Regions from separate parts of the Homo sapiens genome. Here region 1 is linked to region 2. Evidence: promoter capture Hi-C in human tissues and cell types (Jung and others, 2019). All regions are on one chromosome and are shown on one strand. Each heading gives the region's core, a stretch centred on a gene start or on the middle of the fragment in contact. The rest is flanking DNA. Distances are from core to core; before and after follow the strand shown.

Region 1 (6,169 bases), core at 3,217-5,716, 480 kb before region 2:
AGGAGAAATGATCCTTGTTTTCATGCTAAGAGGAAAGATCTTATAAGCATATGTGCGTATAAGCACAGATCTGCAGAAGGATATCCTCCAAACTACTGACAATAGTTTAATTTTTTTAAAAGAAATGACAGCATGGTATAGCAAAAAACAAACCAGAAAACCAAATCAATAGGAGAAAAATCATCAGCTCTCCTAAGAACCCTGACTGAAACCAAGAGGGCAATGTCACCACCACAAGCCTTTATGAGGTCTGCCTATATATTCCTACTCTTGAATTCCAGGAAATCCTGTATCCTTAAAATAATCCCCCCTTTCAACATAAGCTAGCTCACATTGGTTTCTACTGCTTGTAATCAAAGGCTTCTTACATACTACAGAAAGTTGACAAATCAACGATGACTGTGTTTACTTCACAGAAAGGTAGGTTTTGTGAGGACCCTTTAAAGAGTAGCAGGACTTAAAACATGTAAGAAAGAAGCAAAGGCAATCTAAACCACAAGAACAGAATAAAGAAACAATGGAAGAAAAGTATTTTTCTCCTAAGGTACCACAGGGTCTAGATGAAAAAGAGAATGCATGATGGGGAGGTTAAGTGAGAACAGACTATAGAGGACAGATCTGAACTGGAAATGAAAGGTAAACAGAAGCAATTGTTAATTTAAGAACAGAAAAAAGTTATAAAAGCAGTACATTAGAAATATTAGAAGGGTACTAGACAGCAAGATAAACTGGAGAAAGAGTAAAAATAGAAATGAGGAAATTAAGCAACTAGAGTGACAATCCAAATAAAAAGTGAGGAGCCAAGGAACTGGTAATGTTAACATACATAGGTCAGAAATCACGGCTGGGAGCGGTGGCTCATGCTTGTAATCCCAACACTTTGCGAGGCCAAAGCGGGCGGATCACCTGAGGTTAGGAGTTCAAGAACAGCCTGGCCAACATGGCGAAACCCCATCTGTACTAAAAATACAAAAAGTTAGCCGGGCATGGTTGCGGGTGCCTGTAATCCCAGCTACTCAGGAGGCTGAGACATGAGAATCACTTGAACCCGGGTGGCAGAGGTTGGCAGTGAGCCGGGATCACGCCACTGTACTTCAGCTTGGGCGACACAGCGAGACTCTGTCGCAATAAAAAAAAAAAAAAAGAAATCACACATTGGGTCCGGAAAGATTTTTAAAAGATAATTCCCAAAGTAAAATGCCAAAGATAAGGAAGATTTGAAGAGTTCATCAAAAGGCAACATTCCTAGACAGTTATATTTGCTTTCTAAAATAATTAAAAGTCAAAGGCATTCTACAGAGTCTAAAAAGGAAGAATCTATCTGCTACTTAACTATATTCAAGTTGCTTAAACACCAAAAAAAAACTAAAAACTCTAGTTTTAGCTTAGCTATATTCATGACTCAGCATGTAGCTCTCTAAGTTGTCTCATCACATAAAAAACTACTGCATTCCTTAAGTCATTCAATCCTTCTTCTGCAGATACAGGCAAAACAGTCATATGAATGAATATATGAGTGGTGATCAAACCAAAGCAGCATGTAACAGTAAAAGCTTACTGAAAAATATAAGGTTCTGCTAAAAGGAATCTAGAAACACACACACACACACACACACACACACACACACACACACACACACACACCCTAAGAATATTACTTTCAAAGCAGAATCTATTTTAGTGCCCTCAAAATAACTATTATCTATTCATGACTTGAAACAAACATTTTGGGCTTACTTTTTTTTGCAGCTGTTTTAAGTTTTCAAAAAGTTTACCTGAGAGACTAAAGCCTATCACATTTTAAGAGTGCAAGAAATGGTTGTATACAGTTTACATATGTAACCAAAGCCAGCTCCTTCCAAATCACTGTGGTCTAATGAACAACTTAAGCATAGAAAAAGAAATGTAGGCTGGGCATGGTGGCTCAGGCCTATAATCCCAGCACTTTGGGAGGCAGAGGCAGGAGAACTGCTTGAGTCCAGGAGTTCAAGACCAGCCTGAGTAATATAGTGAGACCTCATCTCTACAAAAGTATTTTAAAAATTAGGCAAGTGTGGTGGCATGTGCCTGTATTCTCAGGCACTCAGGAGGCTGAGGTGGGAGGATCCCTTAAACCTGGGTGGCAGAGGTTGCAGCAAGCCAAGCACCACTGCACTCCAGACCAACAGAGCTAGACCCTGTCTCAAAAAAAAAAAAAAAAATGAAGAAGAAAAAAAGAAATGTAGGGTTAAATATGCAAAAGTAATTAAATATGCAAAAGTAATTAAATACAGATCTAGAAATGTTCAAAATTCTAGTGTATCTGTGAGTCACATACCATTCTGGTATGCAATTGATATTGGTATACAATTATAAAGGAGTTTAAAATTAAAAATTAAAATACAGAAGCAGTTCTTGGTTCAGGTAAACCTTATTCTTTATTACTCCCTGAAACTATGACTTCTCACTGTGCCCAATATAAAAGATGCTTACCCACACATACACCTTTATTTACCTTTGTTCTGTTCATATAGTTTTCGGTCACCAGGCATGGCATCTCCTTCCTTCTATCTAAATTCAACACTATTCAAACTTCCTTTCAAATTCTGCTTCTTATAGGGACATGTAACCTTTTACAATACACACTAAATCTCTCCTTTCTCTGAGTATCCACTTAAAGAATAGCCAGTGCTCACCATTTATTACAAATTGCTTTATACTATTACATAATTTCATTATTTTTTACCTCCCCAGATAATTTATAAGCTTCCTAAATGCAAGTTTTACTTACTATTTCTCATTTTTCCCTCACAAAAACCAGAAGGCTGGGTACACAAGTGCCTAACCCATATATTTTTAAGCTATTCATTCTCTCATTTTCAAATCAAATATATGACTATGATTTTAGATTAAATCACTTTCTAGCAAACTTCAAAGAGCATGTAAACTTTTTTGCTGCAATAATTTGGAACTTGGTTTAAAACACAGAGTCAGAAATCACTCCCACAACCCCCCATCTTTTTTTTTGAGACAGGGTCTTACTCTGTCTCCCAGGCTGAAGTGCTGCAATGGCACAATTACGGCTCATTACAGCCTCGCCCTTCTGGGCTCAATTGATTCTCCCACCTCAATTTCCCAAGTAGCTGGGACTATAGGTATGCACCACCATGCCCAGCTAATTTTTCCAATTCTTTTTTTTTTTTTAAGAGATGGGGTTTCACCATGTTGCCCAGGTTGGTCTTGACCTCCTGGTCTCAAGCAATTTGCCTACCTCAGCCTCCCAAAGTGCTGAGACTACAGACATAAGCCACCACACCCTGGCAGAAATCACCTTTTTAATAGGTAGGAATTGGGAGAAAAATCTGAACTAATTTGTCCAAAGTGACATAAGAGCCATTGAATTCAGTATAGAAAAGGAATTATTTTCATCTTTTGCTCTTTTCTTTTTCTGTTTGTCATTTTGCTGCGACAGTGATTTAGAATAGGCAGATTTTGATTTGGAATACATGAGGGGAGGGAAGAAAATCAAAAGATGTACTGCTATTTGCTGGGAGAACATGTTATCATGTGATCCATTCTTACTCAGCTTCAGAAAATAATATAAATGGTTTAATTTTTCTCTAGGTCTACACAGCACCTGCCTCCATGATTAGAAGTTACACTCCCTGGATGTCCCCATCTTACTATATGGCACTAAAATTCATACAGTTCCACAACCCAGAAATCAAGACTCATCCTTGATTCCTCCATCCCTTACTCCCCACATTAATCCATAAGCAAGCCTGGTCAATTCCATCTCAAAACCAGATCTTGGGCCGGGCGAGGTGGCTCACACCTGTAATCCTAGCACTCTGCGAGGCTGAGGCAGGTGGATCACCTGAGGTCGGGAGTTTGAGACCAGCCTGACCAACATAGAGAAACCCCGCCACTACTAAAAACACAAAATTAGCCAGATATGGTGGTGCATGCCTGTAATCCCGGCTACTCAGGAGGCTGAGGCAGGAGAATCACTTGAACCCGGGAGGTGGAGGTTGCAGTCAGCCGAGATCACACCATTGCACTCCAGCCTGGGCAACAAAAGCAAAACTCCGTCTCGAAAAAATAAAAACAAAAACAAAACCAACAGATCTTGTATTTCCCTTCCTCTCTTCCTATCCACTGTCATCATCTTAGTCCAGGCCACCATCATTTCTAACATGAATGAAAACATCCTCCTAACTGGCATCCATGCTTCCACCTTGTCCACCACCCTCCTCTGAGTCCATCCTCCACACAGGAGCAAATGTTCTTCTTAAAATAAAACATATCACAAAGCTCCCCTGCTTAAAGCTCCTTGGTGGTTTCCCAAGTGTCCTACTCTGTTCTGGCTGCTGTAACAGAGTACCATAGACTTATTTCTCACAATTCTGAAGCCTAGGAAGTCTAAGATCAAGGCACTGGCGATTTGGTGTCTGGGGAGGGCCTACTTCCTGGTTCACAGGTGGCCATCTTCTCACTGTGTCCTCACATGACAAAATAGAGCCCTCTGGGGTCTCTTTTATAAGGGTACTAATTCCATTCATAAGGACTCTGCCCTTATGACCTAATCACCTCTTAAAAAGGCCCCACTTCCAAATGCCATCACACTGGAGAATAGGTTTCAATGTATCAATTTGAGTATGGGGAAGGGGGACATAAACATTCAGCCTATAGCAACAAGGCACTTAAAATAAAATTTAATCTCTTTACAAAGGCCTGCAAGAAACAGCGGTATCTGGTCTTGGGTCTTTTTCTTCAACTTCATCTCACACCACTCTCCCCATTGTACATATACTCCAACAAGCTGCCACAGATTCTCAGCTCCTCAAATATTCTTCCTATCCATCCTATCTCAGGCCTTTGCACCTGCTGTTCCCTACTTGAAATGTGCTTTCTTCCATTCTTCAAAAGGCTACATCCTTCTCATCTTTTAGGTCTCAGCTCAAATGCCACCACCTCAGAAGGGCCCTTCCCTATAAACCATCCCTTCCTCAAAAAAAAAAAAAAAAAAAAAATTCGCCACTTTATCCTTTTCTATTTCTTTTTTTGTAACACTTAATATCTCTGGCAATATTTTATTTATTTGCCCATTTATTTTCTATCTGTCTCTACCACCGGAATATAAGTTGCGTAAGGGTGAGAACTACATCTGTAATGTCCTTTACTACATCACCAGCATGTGGGATGCTGCCAGACTTGTAGCTAGCACCACATCTACGTTCTAAGCATTGGGAATATGGCAGTAAACCAAACAGACAAAAATCCCTCCCCTCACGGAGGTAACATTTTACTGATTATTTAGGTAATAAACAAAGTAAGTAAATTATAAAGTATATTCAAAGGCAACAATTGCTACAGAGAAAAATAAAGCAAAGACAGAAAGGCAGAATCAGAGTGTTGTAATTTTACATATTAAGTCAGGGAGCCCTCGACTTGAAAAGGTCTTATTGGAGTCAGTATCTTAAAGAGCTGAGGAAGCCAACAATCCAAGAAAACAAAAGTTAGTGACATGACCCTGAGTGTGCAATGTGCCTAACACATTTGGGGAACAGCAAGAAAATCAGTATGACCACAACAGAAAGCATTAGAGGGAAAGCTAGAAGATGAGGTCAGAGAAGTAACAAGGGGACAGAAACAGGCCCTGATAGAAACTGTAAAGGCTTTGGTTTTATTCTGAATCAGAGAGGAAGCTACTGGAGCATTGTGGGCAGAGAATTACCATGAGTCGAATTACTTCTATCACTTGGGCTGCTATGCTAAGAACAGAGTATTCAGGAGGGATTAAGAGTAAAGACAAAGACTACACAGTACAATTATCCAAGTAAGAGTTGATGGTGGTTTGGCTGAGACAATGAGGCATGGTCAGATTGAATATATTTTGAAGCTAGCACCTACAAGATATCCTGATATGCTTTCTCTGAAAGAAAGAGACATGTCAAGGATAACTCTAGAAGTTCTGACAGCATTGGAAAGAACTGAGTTGCTATTCACCGAGATATAAAAGATTGTTAAAGTAATAGGAAAGTTTATCAAAAGTTCCATTTTAGGCATGTAATATCTGAGATGTCTATTTGACATCCAAGAGGAAATGTGGACTGTGTGGCTGGATATAGAATACAGAGGGCTAGGTGGATGATGAAATTTGGGGAGTTATCGGTGTGTGTATATGTAC
Region 2 (6,166 bases), core at 2,936-5,435:
TATTTGTTTGTTCAGTATTCTGGGTCTTTTAAAGCAGTGGTTCCCAAAGGTTAGTCACAAAGTAATCTTTTAGGGTGCTTTATAAAAATACTGATTCCTGGGCCCTACCCCTAGAGATTCTGATCACTGGTGGAAGAGGCAGGTCTAGGAAGTGGGGACTCCAAGATCTGTATTTTGTAAAGTTTTCTAGGTGCTTCTGATGTGCAGCTTGGTTTGTGAAAGTATGTGATGTTGCATAGTGTGGCTGAAACTGGTTTCATTTAAGGGTCCCATCATTGCCAACTCCTGAATATGTCCACTATTTCTCTGAGAATTCCAACTGCTCAGAACTTTGCTTAAGGAGGGGAGGGGACAGCCTCCATCTTTCCATTACATGCATGACTGGACCAAGAATGGAGTCCTGAACCAGTCTAGGCCAGTACAATTTTCTCTCCCAGGAACTTGGAATTTAGACCAAGACTTGAAATGAGTCATGAGTGGGCACTAACTGGAAAGATTTTTTAGAGCTAGGGAAGCCATTTTCCACCAAATGTTCACTAATGGAGACTCTATCTTAAAGGAAAAGTGGAGAGAAGGAAACAGATGGGCAAAGAAAAGTGTCAGCAAGAGACTTAGAGATGGAGAACCATCTTGATTACTTACTTTCCGGTTTTCTTGTCCCTGCCCCTTGTGAGACCCAATTTTACCTCCTGCCTTTGGAGACTATAAGTTACTGCTTCTAGTAAATTGTCTTGTTTGAATGAGTTTCTGTTTTTACAATTAAATAACTTGAGATTAAGGTAATTTAAGCCTAAAACAATTTAGATGGCATCTAAAGAAGCACTTCTAAATCCTGCATTCTTATAGACCAATACTAAATGTCCCACTTCCTATGTGACTGTCTGGTCATGTCCAGCCTTATTTCTAATTGCTGAGACAGAAGTTAAACCCCTCCAGTCAAAAAAAGAATCAGTCTTTTTATCATACACAGGAAAAATATCATAGCTGAATTACTTCCTTGACTTCTATGGAGGGAAAAACTAGCTCATATGTCTGGAATTTAATTTTTCCTAATCCATAGTTACATATCCCACTACTTTCTCCTTATTGATGGAATAGAATATTAGTAATAAAATAGTAATAAAAATGAGTGATAAATAAAATAGAAAATGTCTGTACAATGTTAAAGGATTTTCATTTTTTATACTCTTCACAACCCTATGGGATAGACAAGGATGGTGTCATTAGCCCAATTTCTTAATTTGAGAAAACTAAACCAAAAGTAGTTCATTTTATTTATCAAATATCTATTGAATATTTCTTATGTTCCATGAATATACTTCCCTGTTCTCAGGAGCTTATCTTTTAGCAGGGAAGGCAGATAAGCTATTACCATAAGGTAATCTGTGAGTTAAGAGAAGAACCAGAACAGGCCTTCTAAAGTGAAGGCCCCTATCCCTTGGCTCTAGCTATACCCACAGTCATCTAATTCATTCTAAGTACATGATGAGAATCTTAAAAGATGAGGTACCAGATATAACTTACTTGAGGGAAATTTAATTTCTTTTGTTTTTTTCTACCCTACTGCAAATTCAAAATGCTCCACATTTAACACATTTCGTATTCTCATTCCCCACCCAAAAGAACTGTTGTTCCCCGTTCACAGTTCCACATGGCTGGGGAGGTCTCAGGAAACTTACAATCATGGTGGAAGGGGAAGAGGCATGTCTTACATGGTGGCAGGCATGAGAGAGCAAACAAGTGAAGGGGGAAGAGTTCCTTAGAAAACCATCAGATCTCATGAGAACTCACCTCATAGATTTCCTGATTCATGGTATTGCAGCACCATCAGATTCCCAAGCACTGCTCTTCTTCTCTCACTCTCCCACTTTGAATAAGTGCTGTCAGCTCTCCCTCCTTTTTGTTCCCCATTCCTCTGCTGGAGCCTTTTTTGGGCCACCATTTCTTACCTGGGCCTTTGCAATAGGCTAACCAACATTCCAGCTCTAGGCGTCTTTACTGATTTCTGGCACAAAAATCGGATCATACCATTCCAGCACTTAAAAAGTCATGTTTCTCTGTTTTTAAGGATTATAAAATTCAAAATCTTTAGCATACCACAAAAAACCCTTTGTAAGTTTAGGATACCAGCCAGACCCCTCTCCTGTCATGTCCTACTGCAAGTAGCCTCTTTTCACGGGGTGTCTCACACCTCTGCATATATCATTCCCTTATTCCCTCTTCCTCATATGATCCTGTACTCCTCTCCTCTTTTAGGTAAACTCCTTACTTCTAGTGCTTCAAAGCACAATTTGAATATCAACTCTTTTTAAAGCCATTGTATTAGTCTGTTTTCACACTGTTACAAAGACATACCCAAGACTGGGTAATTTATAAAGAAAAGAGATTTAGATGATTCACAGTTTCACATGGCTGGGGAGGTTTCAGGAAACTTACAATCATGGTGGAAGGGGAAGAGGCAAGTCTTACATGGTGGCAGGCAGGAGAAAGCAAACCAGTGAAGGGGGAAGAGTCCCTTATAAAACCACCAGATCTCATAAGAACTCACTATCACAAGAACAGCATGGGGGAAACAGTCCCATGATCCAATCACCTCCCATCAGGTCCCACCCTCCATAGGTGGGGATTATGGGAATTACAATTCAAGGTGAGATTTGGGTGGGGACACAAAGTCAAACCATTTCAGCCATCCCTGAATGTCTGGCCATCCCATTCTTTAGTATTCATCACATGGTATTGTAATTATTTGCTCATATATCTCTCTCTTCCATAAGGCTGTGAACTCAGCTATGTCTTCTTCCACACCCAGGGAATGCTTGGCTGTCTCAGTCCATTTTGTGCTGCTAAAACACAATAACACAGACTGGATAATTTTTAAATAATAGAAATTTATTTCTCACAGTTCTAGAGGCTAGGAAGTCCAAGATCAAGGTGCCAGCATCTGGTGAGGGCTTTCTTGCTGTATCCTCACGTGGTGGAAGGGCAGAAGAGCAGAAGAGAACACCCACCTCCACAAACCTTTTGATAGCAGCATTAATCTATTCATGAGGGTCACTCTATTCATAAAGGTGGAGCACTCTTGACCCAAATGCCTCCCATTAGGCCCCACCTCCCAATATTCTTGCATTGGGAATTAAGTTTCCAACATATGAATTTTGGGGGACATATTCAGACCATAGCAGTAGCCAGTGTTTAATAAACAAGAAAATGAATAAATAGGCTTAGTAGTGTTATCAGGGACGACAGAAGGGCATGATGCCTTTCTGTGCCCAACCTCCTATCAAGTGCTGCCCTCCCACCACCCAGCACTATGTGCCTATGCAGGAATGTGTCCTTTGAGCAAAATACAGCAAGGAAAGAGGGAGAAAAATCTGTGTTTTCACTTTTTTTCTTTTTCTTTTTAAGAGGTGGGGTCTTGCTGTGTTGTCCAGGCTGGATTTGAACTCCTGGGCTCAGGTGGTTCTCCTGCCTCCACCTACGAGTAGCTGGGACTACAGGCACACACCACAGTGCCAGGTTTTTGTGGTCTCTCTTTAAAGGTGAGTCTGCATTCACCTTTGGAATAGTTCTAGTTGTCATAGATTGAATATCCTATTTTAAAATGCAATATTCTTACAACTGCCTTTGATGAAAGGGAGTTGAGATGGGACCATTGGGGAAACCTCCAGATGACTAGGGGGCAAGTAATTTGATTGCAGTGCCAAAATGCTTCCATTTAAGGAGCCAAAGTTTGCAAATGTGTGTAAACTGATCCAATCTATTCCCAGGATGTGCCTGAAGTAACAAACATATGTAAGTTGATCCAACCTATTTCCGAGGTGTGCCCGGGATATAAATGGTTAACATTGACAAACACACCTTATGAAATCTACCAGCAGCTGAGGGTGCCAGGCACCTCTTCTACCTCCCTGGAAGGCCCAGTGGGGCGGCGTTTCGAAGGTGTCTTCGCCCCTGTCTCCGGCCCCTGTCCCCTCCCGGGACGTGGGCGTTCCCCCTGAACTCGAGTCCCGCCTCTTCCAGGCTGCCGGGGCCTGGTGGGCTGGCCCGCCACGTGGAGCGCTGGCTTGATTCTCGAAAGGGGCCTACGCCATTGCCGCGCCGCAGCTCCAGGACAGGCCCTCGCCCCACGTCAACAGCGTAGGGCCGGCTGCCCAGGTTTACTCTTACGCCACTGACGTAACGTCATCGTGCGGGACGTGGACGGAAGAAAAAAGAGAGTGAGCGAGCGCCGGAATCAGCCCGGCGTGGAGTGCGGACCCGCGGTAGTGCCAGGGGGCGAAGGCGGCGGTGGTGAGGAAGGTACGCGGCGAGCGGCGGGGATGGCTAGGCGCCCGCGTCTCTGCGGAAGCTGTTGCGCGCCCAGGCTCAAGCGCGAGGGGCGTGAGCGCCGGGCCGCTGGAGCGGGGACGCTGCCGGAGCAGGTGCCGGGGCCCGGGGATCTGGCCCATGGGTAGGTGTGGGCCTCGGCCGAGGGATGGCGGCTGCATCGGGCCGCCCAGGGCGCGCTGCAAGACCGTGGCGCGCTCCCATATGCCGGTGCGCGGCCGCCCCGGGATCTACGGATGGCTACGGGCCCTGACCTCCCCGGCCTCCCCTGGGTACACCATGTAAGGAACTGGGCCAAGTGGAGACTTCAGGCATCCGCGGGCCCCTTCTTTCCAAGAGTATGGAGCCTGCACTGGTGGGTGGCGTGGGTGGCGGTGGTGGCAGCGCCGGGATGCCGCGGGTTTTAGCTGGCCGCACGCTGACTCTCAGGGGCCTGGGTCCCTAGTTCCCCGCGGCCCTCCAGGCGTTCATCATCCCCTCCTCAAAGCCAGACTCCCTTTGCAGTATGGCATTCTGTGTATGCTGGGGTCTTCCTGTTACAGCAGGACGCACCCACATACCCCACCTCGTCCTTCCCCCATCATTATCCCCTGCCCTCTGAGGTGGTGAGGCCCATCGGATCTTTGTATTTAAGTGGTGAGCCATATACCGAGCATGTGTTTGTGGGTGAACTGTGCTGGGACTGAGGTTCACTTCTCTGTTCAAATCAGTTAGATAAGGGCATTCTGTTTAGTCTGTAAAGAGATATTGAGAAATGTCTTGAGTCAAAACGTGAAAACTTTCTTCAACTGATGATATGGAGTCTAAACACACACACAGAGTCGAGACACAGTCACACAAATCTAGACACGAGTCTAGATACACACACACACACACACACACACACACTCTCTTTGCTCCTTGGGATCAACTGTGTGCTTCTCGAGGGCGTAATACACTCTGCCTGGTCAGTCAGAGATGGTGGTACAGGGGAGAGGTCAGGAGGCTTGGTTTCTACGTCAGTCTTCAATCTCTTATTTCAGTGACCGTAGGTGTTCAGAGCTTTCAATGACTCTTGGTTAATAGAGAGGTAAACAGTCAGTCAATATATGTGTGTGATTGTATCTAATAGTGAATATTCGTTGAATTCTTTGTTCCCGTGATGGGTCTTGAAGGAAATTAAGGAAAAAATAATTGTAAGGCATCATTAGTGCCTAAAAGACAAAAGGAGGAAAACTGACATTTACTGACCATTTGTTGTACCCAAGCACTTTCCACGCATTCTCTCTTTTAATTCTCACTATAATTTCATGAGGTCCATAGTGTTAGTATCCCTGATTTATAAGTGAGGAAACAGAGGCTTAGAAAAATTGGGTAACTCTTACATATGTAACTAACCTGCACATTGTGCACATGTACCCTAAAACTTAAAGTATAATAATAATAATAATAATAATAATAAAGAAAAATTGGGTAACTCTCCACAAGACACACAGCAAGTGCAGAGCTCGAACCCAAATCTGACCAACTTCAAAGGCCTTGTTCCTCATCGTTTTTGCCATATTGTCAATGGAAAGTTTGTAATCCAGATGGGAAAAGCAGTAGTCATGAGCTATTTAAAAGCTAACCTATAGAATTATATCCAGCTGTGAAGACTAGCCTTGCTGGGGAAGGTTTCTTAGGGAGGTGGAACTGGAATTTGATTGTTTTACCCTTTGGCTCTTCTGTAGTTATTTTGGAGAATTCACATGTAAATAATTGTTTAGCAGCCATTATTGAAGGAATTTATATAAGCAGCAAACTTAGATCACGTGCTAAAATCATACTTCAGTGTTATGAAAAAATTGAAATAACAAAGATC

The links. The method cuts DNA at HindIII sites, captures the fragments that hold promoters and counts their contacts. A contact is called where the count stands out against the background at its distance.
Region 1: a fragment that was not itself captured here is called in contact with the fragment with the promoter of ALDH18A1 in region 2 in 1 of the 25 tissues and cell types used here (spleen).

The regions. Positions count from the first base shown.
Region 1 is chr10:96,137,781-96,143,949 of GRCh38, reverse strand. The region is part of intron 3 of ZNF518A (zinc finger protein 518A); the gene reads right to left. LOC124902486 (a long non-coding RNA gene) reads left to right here. Exons shown (of 2, transcript XR_007062254.1): 1 at 1-6,169. Among named protein-coding and RNA genes, the nearest start is that of ZNF518A, 11 kb to the right of the region's middle. The HindIII fragment of the contact is 4,633 bases long and covers 2,150-6,169 here.
Region 2 is chr10:95,654,730-95,660,895 of GRCh38, reverse strand. ALDH18A1 (aldehyde dehydrogenase 18 family member A1) reads left to right here and starts at 4,185. Exons shown (of 18, transcript NM_002860.4): 1 at 4,185-4,299. RefSeq lists a silencer at 4,339-4,448. The HindIII fragment of the contact is 17,710 bases long and covers 1-6,166 here.